Linked DNA regions of Homo sapiens: all the other regions are linked to region 3. Evidence: promoter capture Hi-C in 16 types of primary human blood cells and fetal thymus (Javierre and others, 2016). All regions are on one chromosome and are shown on one strand. The core of a region is centred on a gene start or on the middle of the fragment in contact, and the rest is flanking DNA. Distances in the headings are between cores, read along the strand shown.

Region 1 (2,700 bases), core at 86-2,585, 190 kb after region 3:
GGTGTAAAATGGTCATTTGAAGAATGGGGAAATCTGTTAACCACCTGCCCAGAAACCTTCACTTGGCATAACCTTCAGAAACGATGATGTAAGCATTTCACAACCATTCTGAACTTTGAAGGATATATAAAATACATTTTGAAGATTTGAAATAAATAATAATAATGAGGAAGGCCCTTTTTAAGGGTTTAGAGAAGTGCAAGCCACACATAAGCTGTTTAAGAATGGCTTAATAAACAGAGATAAACTTACTGTGTAAACAATATTTCCAACAAATAAATAGTCGGTAGCATGACCACTTGTCAACACAGTATCTGAAAAACAAAGAAGTTACTATTAACATCCAAGAAGCTGAGCATGGCCACCTATTTAACTCAGAGCATTAAACAGGGAACTTTAGGAACATCAATCAACTCACAGAGTATTTCAAAATCCCATCCTGTGACTCTAATGCTTACTTCTCTTTCTAATGATGAACTTTTTCATCTTATATTCTCTCCAAATGAAGCAAATAAAGTCAAGCTTCCAACCAACCAACCAACCAAACGCTTGATCTGCACTGAAATTTACATTTTTGTAAACATTAAAATTTATCTTTGTCCAGTTTGTTTTAAAAAAAGGAGTAAGAACATACTCATCTATCTTTATTAAGTGCCATCGATGTTGGGGCTTTTTCCAGGTATTCTTTATGATTCATCTTTACATTTTGCTAAATTGGAATTATGGACCAATAAAAAGATAACTACATGCATATTAAACCAATTCATCATGACTGAACTTGGAAAGAATTTTGGGGGTATTTATTACTCATGTTCTCATCTGCAACTGTATGAGCTTCCGGAGTCTATCACCTGGGGGAACGCAAGCACTCCAATGACAGAAGTTTAGAAAATAGAAGAAGGATTTTAAGCCTCAGTTTTCCTATATTTTCCTTTTTTTTTTTTTCTTTTCAAGGATGGCTATGACTATAACAACCACTAAGGCAGAATGCTAATAGAGTTGTTTCATCATCTCCGCTACACCTGCACAGAGAAGTCTGTTTTTTATCCTGAGTGGTCAGAGCCTATTTTAATATCAGGCTTAGTTTCCTTGGATGACACTGCCAACCTTCCTTTATTCTTATTTCTTTCAACTTCTTCCAACTTTTGTTTTAGATTTTGGGGTACATGCGCAGGTTTGTTACAAAGGTATACTGTGTGATGCTGAGGTCTGGAGTACAAATGACTCTGACACCCAGGTAGTAAGCATAGTACCCAATGGGTAGTGTTTTTTTTTGTTTTTGTTTTGTTTTGTTTTGTTTTGTTTTTGAGACAGAGTCTCGGTCTGTCGCCCAGGCTGGAATGCAGTGGTACAATCTCGGGTCACTGCAACCTCTGCCTCCTGGATTCAAGCAATTCTCTGCCTCAGCCTCCCAAGTAGCTGGGATTACAGGTGCCCGCCACCATGCCTGGCTAATTTTTGTATTTTTAGTAGAGACAGGGTTTTACCATCTTAACCAGGCTGGTCTCGAACTCCTGACCTCATGATCCACCCGCCTCAGGCTCCCAAAGTGCTGGGATTACAGGCGTGAGCCACCGTGCCTGGCATCCCAATGGGTAGTTTTTCAAGCCTTTCCTCTCTCCCTCTCTTGTCAAGTTCTCCGGCATCTATTGTTCTCTTCTTTATGTTCATGTGTACTCAATGTTGAGTTCTGACTTATAAGAGACAACATGTGGCATTTGGTTTTATTCTTTTTTTATACTCAGTTCTGGTCTGTGGCCCGCAGGCTGGGTAGATAAGGATGCTTGTGTTCAAATTTCCAACCAGTAGCTGCTATACATACATATCTGGGCTCGCAGATTTTCCCAATGCTTGTTGAACAATCCCACTCTTATTAGAGAATCAATATCTATTTATTTTCCTAAAACAGCATAATGATGGAGTCATAAGTGGAACTGCAGAAGCATGGGTCTCCGAATCCAGCCCCTGGGCACACACAGTCTCCCGATTCCAGCCAGGTAAATCTGTGGATAAGGGAAGATGAACCAGGAAAGCAACATCACGGGCTGCACTAAACGGAGGCCCCGCTGCTGGGTAAAGTAAGAGTTATATCGGGAGAACGGGGCGAGACATGGCCACTGACTTAAAAAGGAACGGTCTCAAAGCTTAGGGGAGAGGGGACAAGGACAGACTGGAGCTTAGGCATGACTTCATTAAAAGGGAAGGAAGGGAGCAAGTTAAAAAAGTAAAAGAAAGGCTGAATTAATCCCAAGAAGGCAACATGCTGATGTATTAGCAAATAGTTACTCAAAATTGTAGGAGTTCACTTTTCAGGAACTGGCCTTAAGACTGTTTTACTAACAGGTGCAACACTTTTAAATGCCTGCCTCAATGAAGAAATACTTCAGTTTAGTATGGAGACCATCTCTTTGATTCTAACATAGATTATAGCCTTGAAATGAATAAGATTCTTCTTTTATGTACTCAACAAATATTTACTTACAGCCTATTTTATGCCAGGCACTATTATGAAAACCGGGAAGAGAAGGTCCCTGTTTTTATACAGCTTGTGGTCTAGTGAGGAGACAGGACATAAAACCTTAAACAGATACACGATAAAATGTCAGGTGTAATAAGTGCTATGAAGAAATACATTAGCTGCTGGGTGCGGCGGCTCACACCTGTAATCCCAGCACTTTGGAAGGCCAAGGTGGGTGGATC
Region 2 (2,700 bases), core at 141-2,640, 170 kb after region 3:
AAGAAAGTAAATTAATATATTTGAAAACCAGTGTCAAGGTGTTGAATTTTGTTCTTCCTGGATACGAATACATGTAATACCTCCAGCAATAAATATCCTTAACCTTGGACCTGAAACTGTTTGCCCAGGTCTACACAAACTCAATCTTTGGCTGCTTCAACAGAGAAAGGCTTTCATGCTGAATTTTGCACAGAAAAGTAGATTTGGGGAATTTTTCTGAGGAAAGATTGAATTTATCATGAAACATATTTCATCAAGAAACTGGTAAAATGAGCCACCTTTTTACCCAAACCACAAAGACTGCAAATTCCTTTGCTAGAAAAGTTGGCTGCTTCTGTTGAAAAGATTAACTTATGCTGAATAGCTTTGGGGGCATGAAGGGATAGGTGAGGTTGCCTTTTTCATTTAGGGGAACGTAACTTGTAACAATAAATAGTAGCTCCTGGGAATGGAAAAATGGTAGCTTATCAATACCATTTCCTTATTGTAAAGGTTCTTCCAGCAGATTTATATGAACTGACCTGTGTTCTAGAAAGAAGTTCACAATGCCTAAATTCTGCTGCAAAAACAAAAGTCATCTGGAACCTTTCAATACCCCTGAGGCCTGTCAGGATTATGGCTGGAGAGCAACTTTCCTTGCTTGTAATAACTGATTTACTTAAGTGTGAAACTACCAGTGCCTTCATTAATAAAATGACATAATACTAATCACATTTTTCCCCTCTTCCTTTTTTTTTTTTTTTTTTGTTGTTCCTGACTGGACAGTATCCTGTGAAAACAAAGAAATTACACTTTTTAATCTGATGGGACATGTGGCTACTTCACAAAAAGCAAAGTTTGCCAAGAGATAGCCATCTATGGATTAGCCGCTGGATTTTCTTGGAAGCGTGAGGGAAAGGAAAATTGTTATTCAAATTGCTTTAGACACTGACGAATTATGTATGATTACATGTAGTCAATTTCTGATCTTAGGATTATCTGATAACTGATTATTCCTTGCTGTCACTGTGCCCAAAACAGTACCCCATGGACAGGCCACTCCATGGACAGGCCTACGCCGCTGTGGCTTTGTCTAGGAGGCCACCTCTTCTTCACCACCTACCTTTTTAAAGTGTATCAAGCTCAGGTCTGCCTTATTTTTCTCACGGGAAAAACTCTTGCTTTGTCTGTGTGCATTACTGAATTTTCAAAAAAGTTTAATTTCTTAAACTTAATCAATTATCGATTGAGTTAGGCAAATATGTCTTCTCACTGGGAGAAGATATTCAAGAAAAAGTCTAGGATTTTCCTCCTAACTCTTTCCCCTATGGAAGCCAAATGAAAAAGACATTTTCCTCCTATTATTTGCAGGAGAATGTGGGTATCGCCAGGACTGTCCTAAAACACATTTGGGGCTGTTTGCATAAATCTGCTTGAAGAACCACTGCAGAAAGGAAACAGCTGGTGCACAGTGGGAGACCTGGGCTTGTCCATCAGATGCGCCTGCCAGCACTGGCCACCTCAAAGATTACTTGGAGGGTGGAGTCCAGAATCCATCGCCAGCAGAGGTGCACATCCAGTGGTGGCAGTGCTAGGGTTGGGTCTTGATCAGGTGGTCCGAAGTAGCCTCCTTGGCTTCTACCAGCTTTCTCAGCCTGGTTCTTCGGCTTTTTCATATATTCTATGGATTGCATGATAACTGTCTATGCATTCTTTTTCTGTTTATTAAGTAACGTCCATTTTTTTCCTTCATTGTAACCAAAGATCCTGGCTGGCATATTTAATAAAGTTTAGCATGTTTAGGTTACAGCCCTGAACTTCTAAGGTCAAGGCCAGTGGCCAAGAGAGCCTCCTGCTGTCCCTCTCAGTAGCCACCTTCAATTAGTGACACCACTGGAGATATTGTCCCAGGTGCTCGATAAAGCATTTCTCAAAAAGAGTCACTAGCAGAGAATGAGAGTTTAAGATACGCTTTTGTGGGAATAAACCACAACAAAAGAAGATACACAAAGTCCTGATTCTTTGAGTTGACTTAAATTCTTGTCCTCAGAGCCAAATGCCCTCTGCTCTCCTGCCCCGTCCACATGCCCCATAGACCAAGTATGTGTGCACATGGCTTGTGCCCTCTGGGAGCAAATCGCATGGTGATCTGCAAGGAGACCGGTGGTAGAATGCTATAAATGCTGGGACACACAAACGACACAGCTGCAGGAGTGAACACTCATGACCCTGCTCTGGATGTGAGGGATGAGGGAGAGAGAGTGGGAAGGCAGCTGATGGTTTTAAGCTCCTGTGCCTGGGGAAGTGGTGATGGACGTGAGTGGAGACAGAGTGAGTGGAAGGTGCTGGGGCGATGGGAAGGCAGGAACTGTGCTTCAGAGAGTTGAGAGCCTGAGGTACTGGTTGTCAGAGGCGTTTGAACCACAGCAACTCCATCTTGAATAGGGGCTGGGTAAAATGAAGCTGAGACCTACTGGGCTTGCATTCCCAGACAATTAAGGCATTCTAAGTCACAGGATGAGATACAAGGTTGGCACAAAATACAGGTCATAAAGACCTTGCTGATAAAACAGGTTGCAATAAAGAAGCCAGCCAAAACCCACCAAACCAAGATGGTGACAGGTACGACCTCTGTTCATTCTCACTGCTACACTCCCACCAGCTCTGCCTATGGAATAGTCATTCTTTTATTCCTCTACTTTCTTAAAAAACTTGCTTTCA
Region 3 (2,700 bases), core at 201-2,700:
GTCTTTTTGTCTGATTTCTGTATTTTACCCTGGAGACTTTAGGCCCTATTTGAAGGAAATGGCCATGCTGTCTGGCTTCTTGATGAGTCCCAGTACCCAGCACAGAGCACAGTACACTGTAAGTGCATGGCGTGTATTTCTTGAATGAATGATTTCTTGACATTGAAATTTTTTTTAGCTTACTAGCTTAAGACATTTGGTGAATAGTGCATTTAAAGTATATAATTTTGTGTAGCTTAAAACGATACACAACCAAAAAACTGCAAGAAAACAAAGTGCAATGCTTGGAGAGAGGTTTAGTGAAAAGAATAAGGTGTGTGTTGGGGAGCAGGGACATAGGGTAGGGTTTTTTTTCTTGGATTTGACATTGTTGGGGCAAGTGGAAGAATAATCAACAATGTCTGAATCTTCACATTAACCAGGCATACACAAGCATCCAATGGCTGCTTGAACCTGAGTGTCTTTGCTGTGAATAAAACTGCCTGTGTTCTGAAGTCATGGACTTGAAAGGGACCTTAGTGATCGTCACATCCTATGCTCCACTTTATAGATGAAGAAACTGAGACCAGAAAAACGCAGTGATTCCCTGCTAGTAGGGCTGGGTCTAGAATTCAGGTCTGCTGACTCCCAGACGGTGTGGGAAGGGGCATTCGTTCCTTTAAAAATAAGCACTGCTGCTTTAATAACATCAGCACCTGTTGTTCCAGCTTCTGCAAGAGAGAAGCTATTAATTTCTCCTTCATCAAAGCTGAATTTCTGGTCTGTCTGAACCTTGTTTTCTTCCTGACTGCAGCTGTCTAAACCACTAAGGCCACATGTTGGACGGAGGCACTTTCCTGCTGGAATCCGATAAATCACCACACCCAAATATAGAAAGAAAAAGGGACACAGATCATCCACACCGTGGCCGAATGTGTGACATCTTTGCTGAACTCTCTCCGTTCCACCTTGTGGTGGAGGCCTCCAGTCCACCAAACACAGCCCTAGGCGTGTGAACCCTGCCACAAACATCGGTGCTCTTCCTGCACAGGGCCTGGGACCAACCGTGGCCAGGACATCAGCTGCTGGAAGCCGAGAGAGTTCATCTGAGTGGCGATTTTATGATCTGCAGAGTGGAAAGTAATCATAATCCCTTGAGAAGTTTGCAGAATCGAACCGAATGTTGAATGCCAAAGATCTTCACAAAGCAAGTTGAGTTTCTTCCGTTATTATTGTTATTTGTGTTAGCGAGGCCTGGATTGCTTAGGTTGGGTTTCCTCCCGCGCCTATTCCAGCAGGCAGACCCCGCCCTTGGCCACACCTTTCTCCTTGCCCGGGGTAGGAAAGTGAGGGGCTGCCCGGCGCCCGCGGGCGTCCCTGAGGTCGGGGGTGGGGGGGAGCCGCGCAGCGCGCATGCGCGCCGGGGAGCCGCCGGCCTCTATAAGAGCGCGGCTCAGCGCGGCAGCGAGCGGAGTCGGAGCTGGTCTGGCGCCGGGCGGGGCGAGGCGAGGCTGTGGGCGGCTGCTGCGCTCGGCTTCTCCCGTAGCCCGGAGGAAAGAAACTTCCGTGGGAGGCTTCCATCGGTGCGCACACCTCCCGAGGGCGAGGCAGCGACCGGGAGAGGGAGAGCCGGCCGGAGGCTGCCGGGCTCCTGTGGGACCGCGCTGCAGCCGGGGAGGCGGAGAAGGGGAACCGGGGCGAGCCGCCCGCCTGGATCCGCGCCCAGCAGCAGCCGCGGCCGCCGCCAGCTGGGCAGGCTCCCGGGACTGCGGCTGGGGGCGCGCAGGACCCTCGCCTGCGTCCTGGACGTTCCCGGGGTCAGGAGCGCTCCCTCGGCGACGTGCTGGGAAGATTGGCCGTCGGCCCCGCCGAGTGGAGCGTCGGGGCTGCACCCCCGTGGGCTGCCCGGGCGGCCCGGCCGGAGCCATGCGGACCAAGTTCGGGGCAGAGGAGGCTGAGCGCGGCCGGCTGCGTCACTTGCTGCCCAGAGCCTTGCGTGCACTGCCCGCCTTCGCCCCTTCTACCCGCCCGAGGAGGGAATAAAGGAGGGGAGACGGGCCCTGATTCGCGCGCGGGACCCTGAGGCTTAAACCCTGCGCAGAGCCCTGGCTCCAGGTCCGCGGCGGCGCGCCCAGCGGTCATTCGGCTCGAGTGAGCATCCCTTCGGGGATGCTCAGGGAGGGTCCGGTTGCCAGTGAAACCTCCAGAGGCTTCCGGACGACAGCCCCGGGGGCCTTCTGACTGCATCCCGAGATTTCCATCAGCGAGTGCAACTCATAAGGCAGTCCCTAAGGGGACCGGGCCACCGGCTGAGGACGGGGATGGCTTAGGAGCTCCTGGACCTAGGGCCCGGCGTCGTCGCCTCCTGGGCGTCGCGGCAGAGGGGAGTGGCCCGCGCGGAAAGCGCCGCGGGACAGTCAGTGACGAGGCCCGGGGGTCGCCGGGGCCACGACTTCTCGGAGACCGTCCTGCGCTCTCTGGAGACGCGCTGTCCGCGCCCAGGGTGGTGCCATGTGGGGCGCTCGCCGCTCGTCCGTCTCCTCATCCTGGAACGCCGCTTCGCTCCTGCAGCTGCTGCTGGCTGCGCTGCTGGCGGCGGGGGCGAGGGCCAGCGGCGAGTACTGCCACGGCTGGCTGGACGCGCAGGGCGTCTGGCGCATCGGCTTCCAGTGTCCCGAGCGCTTCGACGGCGGCGACGCCACCATCTGCTGCGGCAGCTGC

Evidence for each region. The method cuts DNA at HindIII sites, captures the fragments that hold promoters and counts their contacts. A CHiCAGO score of 5 or more calls a contact.
Region 1: a fragment that was not itself captured here is called in contact with the fragment with the promoter of SHISA2 in region 3 in 4 of 17 cell types (activated CD4 T cells, naive CD4 T cells, non-activated CD4 T cells and 1 more); the score reaches 6.4 in activated CD4 T cells.
Region 2: a contact is called between a fragment that was not itself captured here and the fragment with the promoter of SHISA2 in region 3, in 6 of 17 cell types (naive CD4 T cells, activated CD4 T cells, non-activated CD4 T cells and 3 more). The highest score is 7.6, in naive CD4 T cells.

Annotation. Positions count from the first base shown.
Region 1 is chr13:25,857,809-25,860,508 of GRCh38, reverse strand. It overlaps ATP8A2 (ATPase phospholipid transporting 8A2), which reads right to left. Exons shown (of 37, transcript NM_016529.6): 31 at 253-314. Among named protein-coding and RNA genes, the nearest start is that of SHISA2, 190 kb to the left of the region's middle. The HindIII fragment of the contact is 1,622 bases long and covers 525-2,146 here.
Region 2 is chr13:25,878,424-25,881,123 of GRCh38, reverse strand. The region is part of intron 33 of ATP8A2 (ATPase phospholipid transporting 8A2); the gene reads right to left. Among named protein-coding and RNA genes, the nearest start is that of SHISA2, 170 kb to the left of the region's middle. The HindIII fragment of the contact is 5,179 bases long and covers 1-2,700 here.
Region 3 is chr13:26,050,766-26,053,465 of GRCh38, reverse strand. SHISA2 (shisa family member 2) reads left to right here and starts at 1,450. Exons shown (of 2, transcript NM_001007538.2): 1 at 1,450-2,700. The coding sequence starts at 2,491. LINC00415 (long intergenic non-protein coding RNA 415) reads left to right here. Exons shown (of 2, transcript NR_146971.1): 2 at 794-1,190. The HindIII fragment of the contact is 15,847 bases long and covers 1-2,700 here.